Regions from separate parts of the Homo sapiens genome. Here all the other regions are linked to region 2. Evidence: promoter capture Hi-C in 16 types of primary human blood cells and fetal thymus (Javierre and others, 2016). All regions are on one chromosome and are shown on one strand. The core of a region is centred on a gene start or on the middle of the fragment in contact, and the rest is flanking DNA. Distances in the headings are between cores, read along the strand shown.

Region 1 (3,671 bases), core at 69-2,568, 900 kb after region 2:
GATTGCATTGCCATTAGCTACCACAGTGCCCACATATAGCAATAGATGGATGGATGGATGGATGAAAACACAAATGATACTTTTTCAGTATCTAAAATTTCCATGCAACTCTGACACGACAGATGATTGCATAAATCTGTCACACTATCCAAATTTTCATTCCCTGCCCTATGATCCAAAAGCCTAAACTAGAGTGATCACATTAATGTCAAAGAACAAGAAGTAAAAAAAGCCTCCTGCCCCATCTCTTGCGGGGGAGACTGAATTTCCACTTTCAAATGTAGAATCATATGAGTAACAAGATATACAAGCACAATTCATGTGAGTTTTTCTGTCTCCATTCCCAGCCTAAGCTACCGTGACAAGGCCAACTTCACACAGGGCTGAGCAACAGCTGTTTATACCGAATGACTGTAGAGCCCCAAGAGACACTTCTACCACTAAAATGCCTTTCTTTTCTTCCTTGGAGAGCTCTTCCCTGTTGACTGTAGGGGGTTGAACTGCATAACCACAAAAATTCATGTGTTAAAAGTCCTAATCCCCATTACTTCAGAATGTAAACTTGTTTGGTAATAGGGTTGTTGCAGATCTAATTAGATGAGGTCTTCCTGAAGTAGTGTGGGCCTCTAGTCCAGCAGGACTGGAGTCCTTATAAAAAGAGGAAATTTGAAGTCAGACATGCACACAAGGAGAAGACAATGTGAAGATGAAAGCAGAGGTTGGGGTGATGCAGCAAAAACCACGGAACGCCAGAGGCTGCCAGCAAACCCCCAGATGCTGGGAGGGAGGCATAGAACAGATTCTTCCTCACAGACCTCAGAAGGAACTAATCCTGCCAAAATCTTGATCTCAGATGTCTACTCTTCACAGCTGTGAGACAATAAATTTCTGATGTTAAAGTCACCCAGCTTGTGGCACTTTGTTACAGCAGCCCTAGAAAATTAATACACTTTCTTGATCTAAATCAGACTCCTAGTTCTTCCTCATACCACCTCCTTTGTGGTACTTACCAAATTTGTAAATATTTTTCCCTGTGTGTCTGTCTGTGTAATGTCTATGTCTCCATTTTTCTCCAAGCTCAATGCGACACCAGTGTCTGTTTTGTCCACCACTGTCCACCCAACATTTAGAAATGAAGAGTCCCTTCATAAGCACTTTTTGATGAATACCTGGGCTGTCCGGCCATTGGAAGCAGAAATGCAACTGTTAAAGGACCACAGGCAGCGCTCCTCAGAAAGAAAAGCCAGAATGCAGGATGGTGCACACTGACAGGCTGTCTCAGCAGCCCTCTTTCAACAAGGTAAAAGATGAAGGTGGCCGGGCACGGTGGCTCATGCCTGTAATCCCAGCACTTTGGGAGGCCGAGGCGGGCTGATCACAAGGTCAGGAGATCAAGACCATCCTGGCTAACACGGTGAAACCCCTTTCTTACTAAAAATACAAAAATTAGCCAGGCGTGGTGGCGAGCACCTGTAGTCCCAGCTACTTGGGAAGCTGAGGCAGAAGAATGACCTGAACCCTGGAGGCAGAGCTTGCAGTGAGCCAAGATCGTGCCATTGCACTCCAGCCTAGGCAACAGAGCGAGACTCTGTCTCAAAAATAACAAAGGGTGAAGGTTAGCGCTGACCTCTTTGGCACAGGCTAGTCTATTCAGTTATCTAACTGGATCAGGCAGAGATCAGGAGCCTGAAGTAAGTTCTAGAAATAGAACCCCATTCCCCTGGAGACGGCAGACCTAAAGGAAGCATCACAGCGTGCATGTATTGTTGAAGAGGCAGGAGGAGTGTTCCTCTAGAATGGCAGCAACAAGCAAGCACAAGGAACCAAGCCCTTGGCAGTGGAAGGAAACCAGCTGAAGCAAGACAAGCAGAAATGATCACAGTAGCTACCACTTATTGAGTCTCAAGTGAGTGCCATGCTGAATGCTTTTCTTACATTATTTCATTAAATCCCCATAACAGACTCACCAATAAGTACTATTATTACCATTTTACATGAAAAAACTGAAGTTGAGAGAGGTTAAGCAATTTGCTCACGGGCACACTGTTAATGAATCATAAGCTAGAATTTAAAGCCAGAGATCTGCTGTTTTGATACTTTCCTAGCTTTGCAGCCTTGCATAGAACTGGCCTTGATGACTTTCTTTCATGCTGTGATTACCAAAATCTGAAAAACCTACATGTTTTAGAAAGCATTACTTACCAATAATTGCTTACTGTCTATCTCCACCTATTAGAAAGCAAACGTCTTGAGATAGCAAATGCATACTCAAACTTATTAGGATTTCGATCCAGTGAACAGTAGGAGCTCAAAAATATTTGTATTAGGAATGAATCAAATAAGCACTTATTGACCACCTAGATGTACTTTAGAAGACATTAATGTTAAAAAAAAACTTCATATTAGAAAAAGAACCCTTACAAAACTACTGCACTAGAATGAAGCATTTATCTTTTCCACTTTTCAATTGCGAAGTACTGCAATATAGTTAAAGTTTCTGTGAATAAAAAACTATTCTGTGCTGCCCTATAGAAAGTTCCCACCCTTAGTTTTACAAACTTCCCTTCTCTGTATATTCATTTTCTTCTTCTAGCTGCTTGTGCTCAACTCTCCATTGGATTCTCTTTTGCATACCTATCCCAGTTTTGCTTGCTAAACCAGGAACTTTTTGTTTTAAGAAAATATTCAGGGGCCCAGGGGAGGGATAGCATTAAGAGAAATACCTAATGTAAATGATGAGTTTATGGGTGCAACAAACCAACATGGCACATGTAAACCTATGTAACAAACCAGCACGTTGTGCACATGTACCCCAGAACTTAAAGTATAATTTTTTAAAAAGGAAAATATTAAAGGTAATCAAACAGCAGATATTTTCAAATTAGATAACTCTAAAAGATAGCTAAACCTATTAAGATTAGGCAGCTGTTGATGATAAACCTCAGAATAACTTTCTCTCTCCCCTAATACAGAAATCAGAAATCAACTGGCAGGTGCACAAGCAAGATACCAAATTCCCGTTTCCCAGCCAAGCTCCTGTGGTGAAATTGTTCCTTGGCAAATGTCCCTTTTTTTTTTTTTTTTTTTTTTTAACTTTGCCTTAAGAGGAGGAAAAGCTGCCAAATGCCAACTTGGAGAATAGTGTACAAAATGCTAAATATAAAGAGTTGAGGAATATCAGGGGCTATTTTAAAAATTAGTCTCTAATAGAGCCTGTAGTATCCTCATATGTCTAGGAAACAGCATGGCAGTCATGTTGGTTTACACCAAAAGCAATAATTCTAGGTTCAAAAGCCCAATCTACAACAGCGCTAGTAAATCTCAGTATCTTTCAACTGAAGGCCAACCTATTTAACATTTCCTGCACTCAACAGCACAAACTCAGAAAATGAGAAGCTAAGTGGAAAAACAAGTGATCAGTGGAGTTGAAAGTACTTCTGCTCTCTCTTCAGATATGACTTGGAAGTCAAATATTACAATAAAAGAGCTCACCCAAGGCTCAAATCTTGAATAGTAACTCACGCTGGTCATAAGCTCCACAATGGGAGGCTTTGAGGGGCAAAAACGCATGCATTTTGTACCTTGATATTTATGATGTTCTATCGCCACCTCCTGGAAGAAAAGACCAAGAACGCCAAAAAAAAAAAAAAAAAAAAAAAAGGGTGCTTAGT
Region 2 (4,049 bases), core at 379-2,878:
ATTAACATATATGCATTACCTCACATACTTGAAATTTTTTTTTGTAATGAGAACATTTACAATCTATGCTCTTTGTGATTTTTAAGCATACGATATATTGTTCTTAACTATCATCACCATGATGGACAATAGAGCTCTTCAACTTATTCCTCTTCTTTAACTGAAATGTTGTATCCTTTGGGTAACATCTCCCCATCTCGCTGCCCCTTGCCCACCCAGCCCCTGGCAACCACCATTCTACTCTTTCCTTCTATGAGTTCAAGTGTTTTAGATTCCACATGCAAGTGTGATCATGTGGTGTTTTTTACTCTCACTAATCTTCATTTTTGCTTCTTTCTCCTCTGGCCACCTTCACAAATGCTCAGTGTCCTCATGTGGTTCCGACCCTTTGCAGTGGCACCTTGCTTAGGTCTGTGCCATCTCAAAAAGTGGTCTAGGTTTTACAATTATTTACATCCCTACTTCCAGTTCTTCAACACTCCTGATCTTAACTAGTTGTGAGGAGAAAAATCTGATTATACAAATTTGCACTAATTCACATTCCTTCCCTCAGCAATAGGTATTTGCATTTTGATACTTGCATTTGCTTCCTTGCTCTGCGGGAGAATTTCCAGTCTAGTTTTAGGTGTATTTTTAAATAATTTGAAGGTAACGCGGAACCTCTATATTCCTATATTCCCTTCTTCAGACATCCATGTGTGTGTGTGTATATATGTATATATATAAAATGTTGCATATATATGTATATATATAGTATACACACATATATAATATATATACACACACATATATAGTTGTTATAGGATTATTTGGAAATATTATGTTGAGACTTGTGTGAAGTGTAGAATTAGGTAAAATTTTAAGATGAACTATATCCATGGTATTCTTTTATTTTAAAAAAAGTTTACATGTTAAGAAAAAAGGAGATCAGATTTTCAGCATTAGTATTTACAAACTTAAGTTGATATTGATTATAATTCAATTAATACAATTTTAAGATATATTTACTTCTGCCTTAATTGTTATGATCACTTAAAAATAGTTCCAAAAAGGGAAGAAAACAATAATTAGATTAGCCAAGACAGTTATTTTTGAAACATAAGTCTGGTTTAGAATTCAGCATGTTTAAAAATGAGATAAAATTATTTTAATAATGGAATGATCTGTTAGCTGTCATTACCATTTACTTTAAAGCAGAGGATATAGGACATGGGTCCTTTTTTTCTGATCACCTCCAATGAGATAAGAATCTATAAAGCTGGTAGGAAAATGAGTCCGTGACCAAAATGCTTACTCAGCCACTATAGGAGATCAAAACATTTTATACTAAATCTGAACTCTACTAAGACAAAACAATTGTGTTCTTTGAAAAATATGTAGGGTTTAGAAAATTTCTGGGATTTGTCTGTAAAATACCCTCCGGGCTCTAATAGTGACGTTTTAGGGAAACACTTGCATCTCAAGGTGGAAAGGATAGAGGTGGTGTTTTGTGGGCTCCTGTGGTGGTTAGGTCGTTCTCAGAAGACAGTACTGGAAATTAGATAATTGCTGATGTCATATTTTTCACAATTAAAAAAAAGTCAGTATCCTGGGGGCTATAAAAGCAGCAGCTTCTACCTTCCCCGTCACAAGCAGAATCTTCAGAACAGGTAAGCGTTTCGGCAAACTTGGTACAATTGGTTAGTTTGATGAAATACTTCTTGACTAATTTTGTTCCTTCACGTTGTCTTCGACCAGGTTCTCCTTCCCCAGTCACCAGTTGCTCGAGTTAGAATTGTCTGCAATGGCCGCCCTGCAGAAATCTGTGAGCTCTTTCCTTATGGGGACCCTGGCCACCAGCTGCCTCCTTCTCTTGGCCCTCTTGGTACAGGGAGGAGCAGCTGCGCCCATCAGCTCCCACTGCAGGCTTGACAAGTCCAACTTCCAGCAGCCCTATATCACCAACCGCACCTTCATGCTGGCTAAGGAGGTATACATCTCAATCCTGCTCTTTCTCGTTGGATCTACTTGGAATCCAAATAGTTCTTAAACTTTTCTTCAGAGCATCTCTAAGAGCTTTAGGAACCCACTGTTTATCCCTGAGGGTAGATAAATTTTCTGTTTTTTCAGAGACTCTTTGGGAATCTGGCTTTTTTTTTTTTCTTGAACTTCTTCCTTCCATTTTGGCCTTTATGATACATATGATGAATTTTTCCCAAAGAGCGGCCATTCAGTAATCCATCTGATGATTTTTTTTTTCCTTTATGCCTCTGTGCATTGTTCTAAACTCATGCACACATCTGAATTCTGCTTTTAGTCTTTATGATGTTGCTCTGGGGAGACGGGATGGGGCACATGTCTATGTATAAATTTTTTTTCTATTTGCTCAATGTCCAGACCCTTAGTCTTTTCTTCTCTTCCAGGCTAGCTTGGCTGATAACAACACAGACGTTCGTCTCATTGGGGAGAAACTGTTCCACGGAGTCAGTGTAAGCTACAGTTGTGACGAACAGGGCCGTGTGCCGTCCATGGGTACTTGGGGTGGTGGTGATGATGGTTTAGGTCTTATCCCTTATGACCCTTTCTGTTTCCCTTCCACCTGCAGATGAGTGAGCGCTGCTATCTGATGAAGCAGGTGCTGAACTTCACCCTTGAAGAAGTGCTGTTCCCTCAATCTGATAGGTTCCAGCCTTATATGCAGGAGGTGGTGCCCTTCCTGGCCAGGCTCAGCAACAGGCTAAGCACATGTGTAAGTTCAGCTCTCAGCCTATGCCCACCTACCCCTCCTTCCCTCCTTCCACAGAGACCCCCTTACCCCAACTCTCTCTCCTTCCCCCTACCCCTAAGCTAGCAGGAAGAAGTGTCTTGGCAGCAGTGTTATCAGGAGTCATTTGGGATCATAGAGTATTTGCTTTTGCTTTGACTGAGTCACATCTTGAGTTTATAGTGGTGAATGGGGTCTGGAACTTAAGTGTACAGAAGCCGCATTGGTTTGTCTTCGGAAAAAAGGCAACTCAGGTTGCGTAAGATGAGAAAGGTGTTGGGAAAAACATCTAGATGTGGAAATGGATCCATTGAGTCTAAGTTGTTGAGGGGAGGGGATGGCATGGAGAGAAATTAGAAGAGAAAGTGGGAAATGGGAAGGCTTAAAGTCGGTGGTGGGTCGGCAGACTGTTGCCCTGTTGATGTCATGGGAAGCCACAAAATCGGAGGCGTGTGAACTTGATGCCGCTGAACATTTGAAACTATGAAAAAAAGTTTGAGTGGAGTGGGCCCAGTAAAAGGCCCTAGGACTTACTGAAGAGGGCTTAATTTTCACATGAGATGTTTTATGTACATTTCTTGTTCTAAGCATGCAATTTTCTGGAGATACGATTGAGGTTTTATTCCTTACAGAATTTGCATAAACTACTCCGCTCTTTCCACAAATGCAAACCTCAGTAGGATTTCCCAAAGATGAAGAGAGGTCTCTTGTAAGGGAAGTGACTGGATTCTGGCGTCCAAGGGAATTCAAGAGCTCAGGAAATCTAGGTCACTGTTGAAATCTAGGTCATTGTGGGCAAAATTACTAAGAGCTTTAATTCCAGGTGAATTGTACTGTACCTCCATGGGTGTGGAGGTTCATAAAGTTTCAGCACAACATTAAGATAGTTATGCTTGTTATTGTTTTATAGCATATTGAAGGTGATGACCTGCATATCCAGAGGAATGTGCAAAAGCTGAAGGACACAGTGAAAAAGGTAGGACTGATAACTGTCAATGCTAAGTCATGCAATAGGAGAGACAAATGTTGTTTTTCTTTCCTTTCTTTCTTCCCATCACTTTGTGATTTTTCACTTGATTCTCCTACCACCAGGGCGATTACTTTGGTGTCTGTGTATGTAGATATATCTATATATCTAGATGTCAGTTTCCAAATCTTGCAAATTGTAGAATTCTAGAACTGGTTGGGATCTTAGCTTGTCTAGTCACATAACCTCAGATTCTGGGGATGGTCAGTGGCAGAGATAGGGCTAGAATGCAGGTCTCCTGAATCCCAAGCCAGCACTTTTCCCGGTGGTGATACAGAT
Region 3 (4,020 bases), core at 1,223-3,722, 530 kb before region 2:
TAAATAAGATCACACACACACACACACATACACACACTTTTATATGCATTAACAAGGCAGTTTTAATCCATGGAGTGATTTTCTCTAAAAGAGGCTTTAAAGATTATGAGTGTGGGTTCTGTGGCTGCACTGCATTGGTATTCTAGCTCTGACACCAGTTTCTGCATCTGTAAAATGGGTTGTTACAAGGATTAAACATGTTATTATCATTTTTAATGATAATAACATGGAATCCTCACTGAAGGCAGTTTTTTTTCTTCTTTTTGTTTGTTTGTTTTTCTGAAACGGAGTCTCGCTCTGTCGCCCAGGCTGGAGTGCAGTGGCGCGATCTCAGCTCTCTGCAACCTCCGCCTCCCAGGTTCAAGCAACTCCTCTGCCTCAGCCTTACAGGCATGCACCACCATGCCCAGCTAATTTTGTATTTTTAGTAGAGATGGAGTTTCACCACGTTGGCCAGGCTGGTCTCGAACTCCTGACCTCAGGTGATCCAACCGCCTCAGCCTCCCAAAGTGCTGGGATTACAGGCGTGAGCCACGGCCCCCAGCCTTGAAGGCGTTTTAAGGGCCATAAAAATACTGCTGTTATCTAGCCTTACTGCTCTCATTCTTGTCTCCCAAATGCCAAGATCATTCCTGCCTCAGACTTCTTTCCTTGCTATGTCATCTTTCCAGAAACTTCTTCCCAGTTTTGTGCATGGCAGACCTAGTTTTTCATCCTTGAGCTTTGGGCTCAGATGTCACTTCCTTAGGGAAGTTTTTCAAAAGCCGCACCCCCCAGCCCCCCAACCCCTAGTTTATCCATCACATTCCCTTTGTTTATTCTCTTCAGGGACCTGATCATACTCTGAAGTCATCTTAGTCACTTCTCTACTTGTTAAATGTTTGTCTTCTTAAGCTCTATGAGGACAGGGACCTTGTGATCTTGTTTACCATGACATCCTAAAAGCTTAGGGCAGCCGTTCCCAAAGTGTAGTTCATGGACCCCCAAAAAGGTCTCATGAGGTCAGAGCTCTCATAATAATACTAAGATTTTACTTGCTTTTTGCACTTTTTGGACCTTTGCATGATGGCACAAAAGCAATGGTAGGTAAAACTGTTGTTACCTTGGCATGAATCAAAGCCATGGCACCAGCTGTATTAGCAGTCATTGTTCATCACTATGTACTCAACAGTTTAAAAAGCCAGTTTTTCTTAAAATTCACTGAAGAACGTCCTTGAAGAAGCAGTCACAGTTATTAATTTTATTTAGTCTTGATCCTTGAGTGCACATCTTTTTAGTACTCTGTATGATACAATGGAAAGCACATATAAGCACTTCTGCACACCAAAGTATATACATTGGTTATCTCAAGAATAACCTTCCTAGAGATTGAATTCTGTGCTGCAGTACACTGCTTTTTTCATGGGACACCATTTTTTCTTGAAAGAACAACAGTAAACTATGGACAAGAGCATAGAACTAAAGACTTGGATATGAGAATTATCAGCTTAGAGATGATAAAGACAATGTCTAAACTGTGTGCAACACTGTTTTACCCACTGGGGACAGGTAAGTTTTTTGCTCTCACAGAGCTACGAAGAGAATAAAGAAAGCATAGAGGTCAGAATCATGGTTTGTTGAATATTTGAAGCTGAGGGGCTTCGAGGAGAAAGGTAGGAATGAAACAACTTTAGAAAACATAGTAATGAGGCCGGGTACGGTGATTCACTCCTATAATCCCAGCACTTTGGGAGGCCGAGGCAGGCAGATCGCCTGAGCTCAGGAGTTCAAGATGAGCCTAGGCAACATGGAGAAACCCCATCTCTACCAAAAAAAAATACAAAAAATTAACCTGGCATGGTGGCGCATGCCTGTGGTCCCAGCTACTTGGAAGGTTGAGGTGGCAGGATCACTTGAGCCTGGGAGGTAGAGATTGCAGTGAACCGAGATCATGCCACTGCATCCCATTTTGGGCAATGGAGTGAGACCCTGTCTCAAAAAAAGAAAGCAAGGCAAGGCAAGGCAAGACAGGGCAAGGCAGGGCAAGGCAGGGCAAGGCAGGGCAAGGCAAGGCAAGGCAAGGGAAGGCAACACATTAATGAAAGAAACATCTCTGTAGCACTGTATTGGTTTATTATTAGCAAAACAGAGTAGTCATGGGATCTCCAAGCTAAAATGTAGAAACAATCCTGTTATAATTGTAGCTATAAAGGTTTTATTCAGCAAACTGATTGTACTTATACAAACAAAGGATCTTGTTTTTTCCCTTTTTGAGAGAATCTTCAGCATGGGAACATTCAGAATAATTTGCCCAGTGCCAGTATGACAGATATTCCTAATTACAAATACTTTGCCAAATTTACAATGAGAATGATGATTAATTTGTGTCACATAGATTTTTTAAATTCATTCCCAAAGTGATTTAAGTTTATATTACAATCACAAATCTTATACTTTCAAAAATAATGCTCTCAATAAACTCATCCTGAATTTTTCTTCCCCAAAGACATCCACATCAGCCACAGCATAAACAAGACTTTCCCACTTTTCCCCTTACTGCTGTGAGTAGCATTCATTCAGTGTCAGCCCCAGGTCTGCCTCTGTTCCCTGTGAATCAACACTCTGTCTAAAAGGCAGGCGTTGGAGGAAACAGACCTCCTTGTCATAGACTGAAGGGCAGCAAACTACATTCCTTCAGCCTTAGGCCTGGTGGAGAAAATGCTTCAAATCACAAGAGAGGTAAGGCTCTCAGAAAAGCATGCAGACATTTTTAAAAATCTTGACTAAAAAGCGTGACTAGCTGGGCGCGGTGGCTCATGCCTATAATCCCAACACTGGGAGGCCGAGGCGGGCAGATCACCTGAGGTCAGGAGTTCGAGACCAGCCTGACCATCATGGAGAAGCCCTGTCTCTACTAAAAATACAAAATTAGCCGGGCATAGTGGTGCATGCCTATAATCCCAGCTACTTGGGTGGCTGAGGCAGGAGAATCGCTTGAACCCAGGAGGCGGAGGTTGCGGTGAGTCCAGATCATGCCATTGCACTCCAGCCTGGGCAACAAGAGTGAAACTCTGTCTCCAAAAAAAAAAAAAAAAAAAAAAGTGTGACTAGGCCAGGCAGGACGGCTCACGCCTGTAATCCCAGCACTTTGAGAGGCCAAGGTGGGCAGATCTCTTGAGCTCAAGGTTTCAAGACTAGACAGGGCAACATGGTGAAACCCCATCTCTACAAACAAAATATAAAAAAATTAGCCAGGTGTGGTGGTGCATGCCTGTAGTCCCAGCTACTTGGGAGGCTGAGGCGGGAGTATCACTTGAGGCTGGGAGGTCGAGGCTGCAGTGAGCCATGTTTGTGCCCCTGCACTCCAGCCTGGGTGACAAAGTAAGACCCTGTCTCAAAAAAATACAAAATAAATTAAAAAGTGTGATTTTAGAAATTGTTAAGATTTAAAAATAAAAATTTTGAGCAAATTTAAATAAAAATATAACTGGTTTGGGATAACCAGATATCCTGCATTTTAGAAATAATGTTAGAAACTGGGGCCAGAGAAGTGGCTTAAAATGTCCCTCTTCATCCCTCCCTCTATGCTTCACAGCATAACCCATATTTATCCACTTATTTTTAATTTAATTTAATTTTACTTTTAGAGTCAGGGTCTCACTTTGTTGCCCAGGCTGGAGTGCAGTGGCACAGTCATGGCTCACTATAACCTCAAACTCCTGGGCTCAGGCAATCCTCTGCCTCATCTTCCCAAGTAGCTGGGACTACAGGTGTCTACCACCATGCCCGGCTAATTTTATAAAATTTTTTATAGAGACGGGGGTCTTGCTGTGTTGCTCAGGTCTTGAACTCCTGGCCTCAAGTGCACCTCCTGCCTTGGCCTCCCAAAACACTGGGATTACAGATGCAGGCCACTGTACCTGGCCCCCATATTTATTAATCACATTTTATTCATTCATTCATTTAACTTTCCTGTGAAGTTTTGCAAATGGCTTCCTCAATTCCCCCTTGTTAAGCTTTTTTTCCTTCTCAAACCATGCT

The links. Contacts are between HindIII fragments. The CHiCAGO score rates a contact against its expected background, and 5 or more counts as called.
Region 1: a contact is called between a fragment that was not itself captured here and the fragment with the promoter of IL22 in region 2, in 1 of 17 cell types (naive CD8 T cells). The highest score is 6.1, in naive CD8 T cells.
Region 3: a fragment that was not itself captured here is called in contact with the fragment with the promoter of IL22 in region 2 in 1 of 17 cell types (megakaryocytes); the score reaches 6.1 in megakaryocytes.

Annotation. Positions count from the first base shown.
Region 1 is chr12:67,355,966-67,359,636 of GRCh38, reverse strand. No RefSeq gene overlaps it. Among named protein-coding and RNA genes, the nearest start is that of LINC02420, 85 kb to the left of the region's middle. The HindIII fragment of the contact is 7,279 bases long and covers 1-3,671 here.
Region 2 is chr12:68,251,183-68,255,231 of GRCh38, reverse strand. IL22 (interleukin 22) reads left to right here and starts at 1,628. Exons shown (of 6, transcript NM_020525.5): 1 at 1,628-1,649; 2 at 1,738-1,969; 3 at 2,403-2,468; 4 at 2,585-2,728; 5 at 3,654-3,719. The coding sequence starts at 1,784. The HindIII fragment of the contact is 7,204 bases long and covers 1-4,049 here.
Region 3 is chr12:68,779,542-68,783,561 of GRCh38, reverse strand. SLC35E3 (solute carrier family 35 member E3) reads right to left here. Exons shown (of 5, transcript NM_018656.5): 5 at 2,094-4,020. Among named protein-coding and RNA genes, the nearest start is that of MDM2, 27 kb to the left of the region's middle. The HindIII fragment of the contact is 3,050 bases long and covers 948-3,997 here.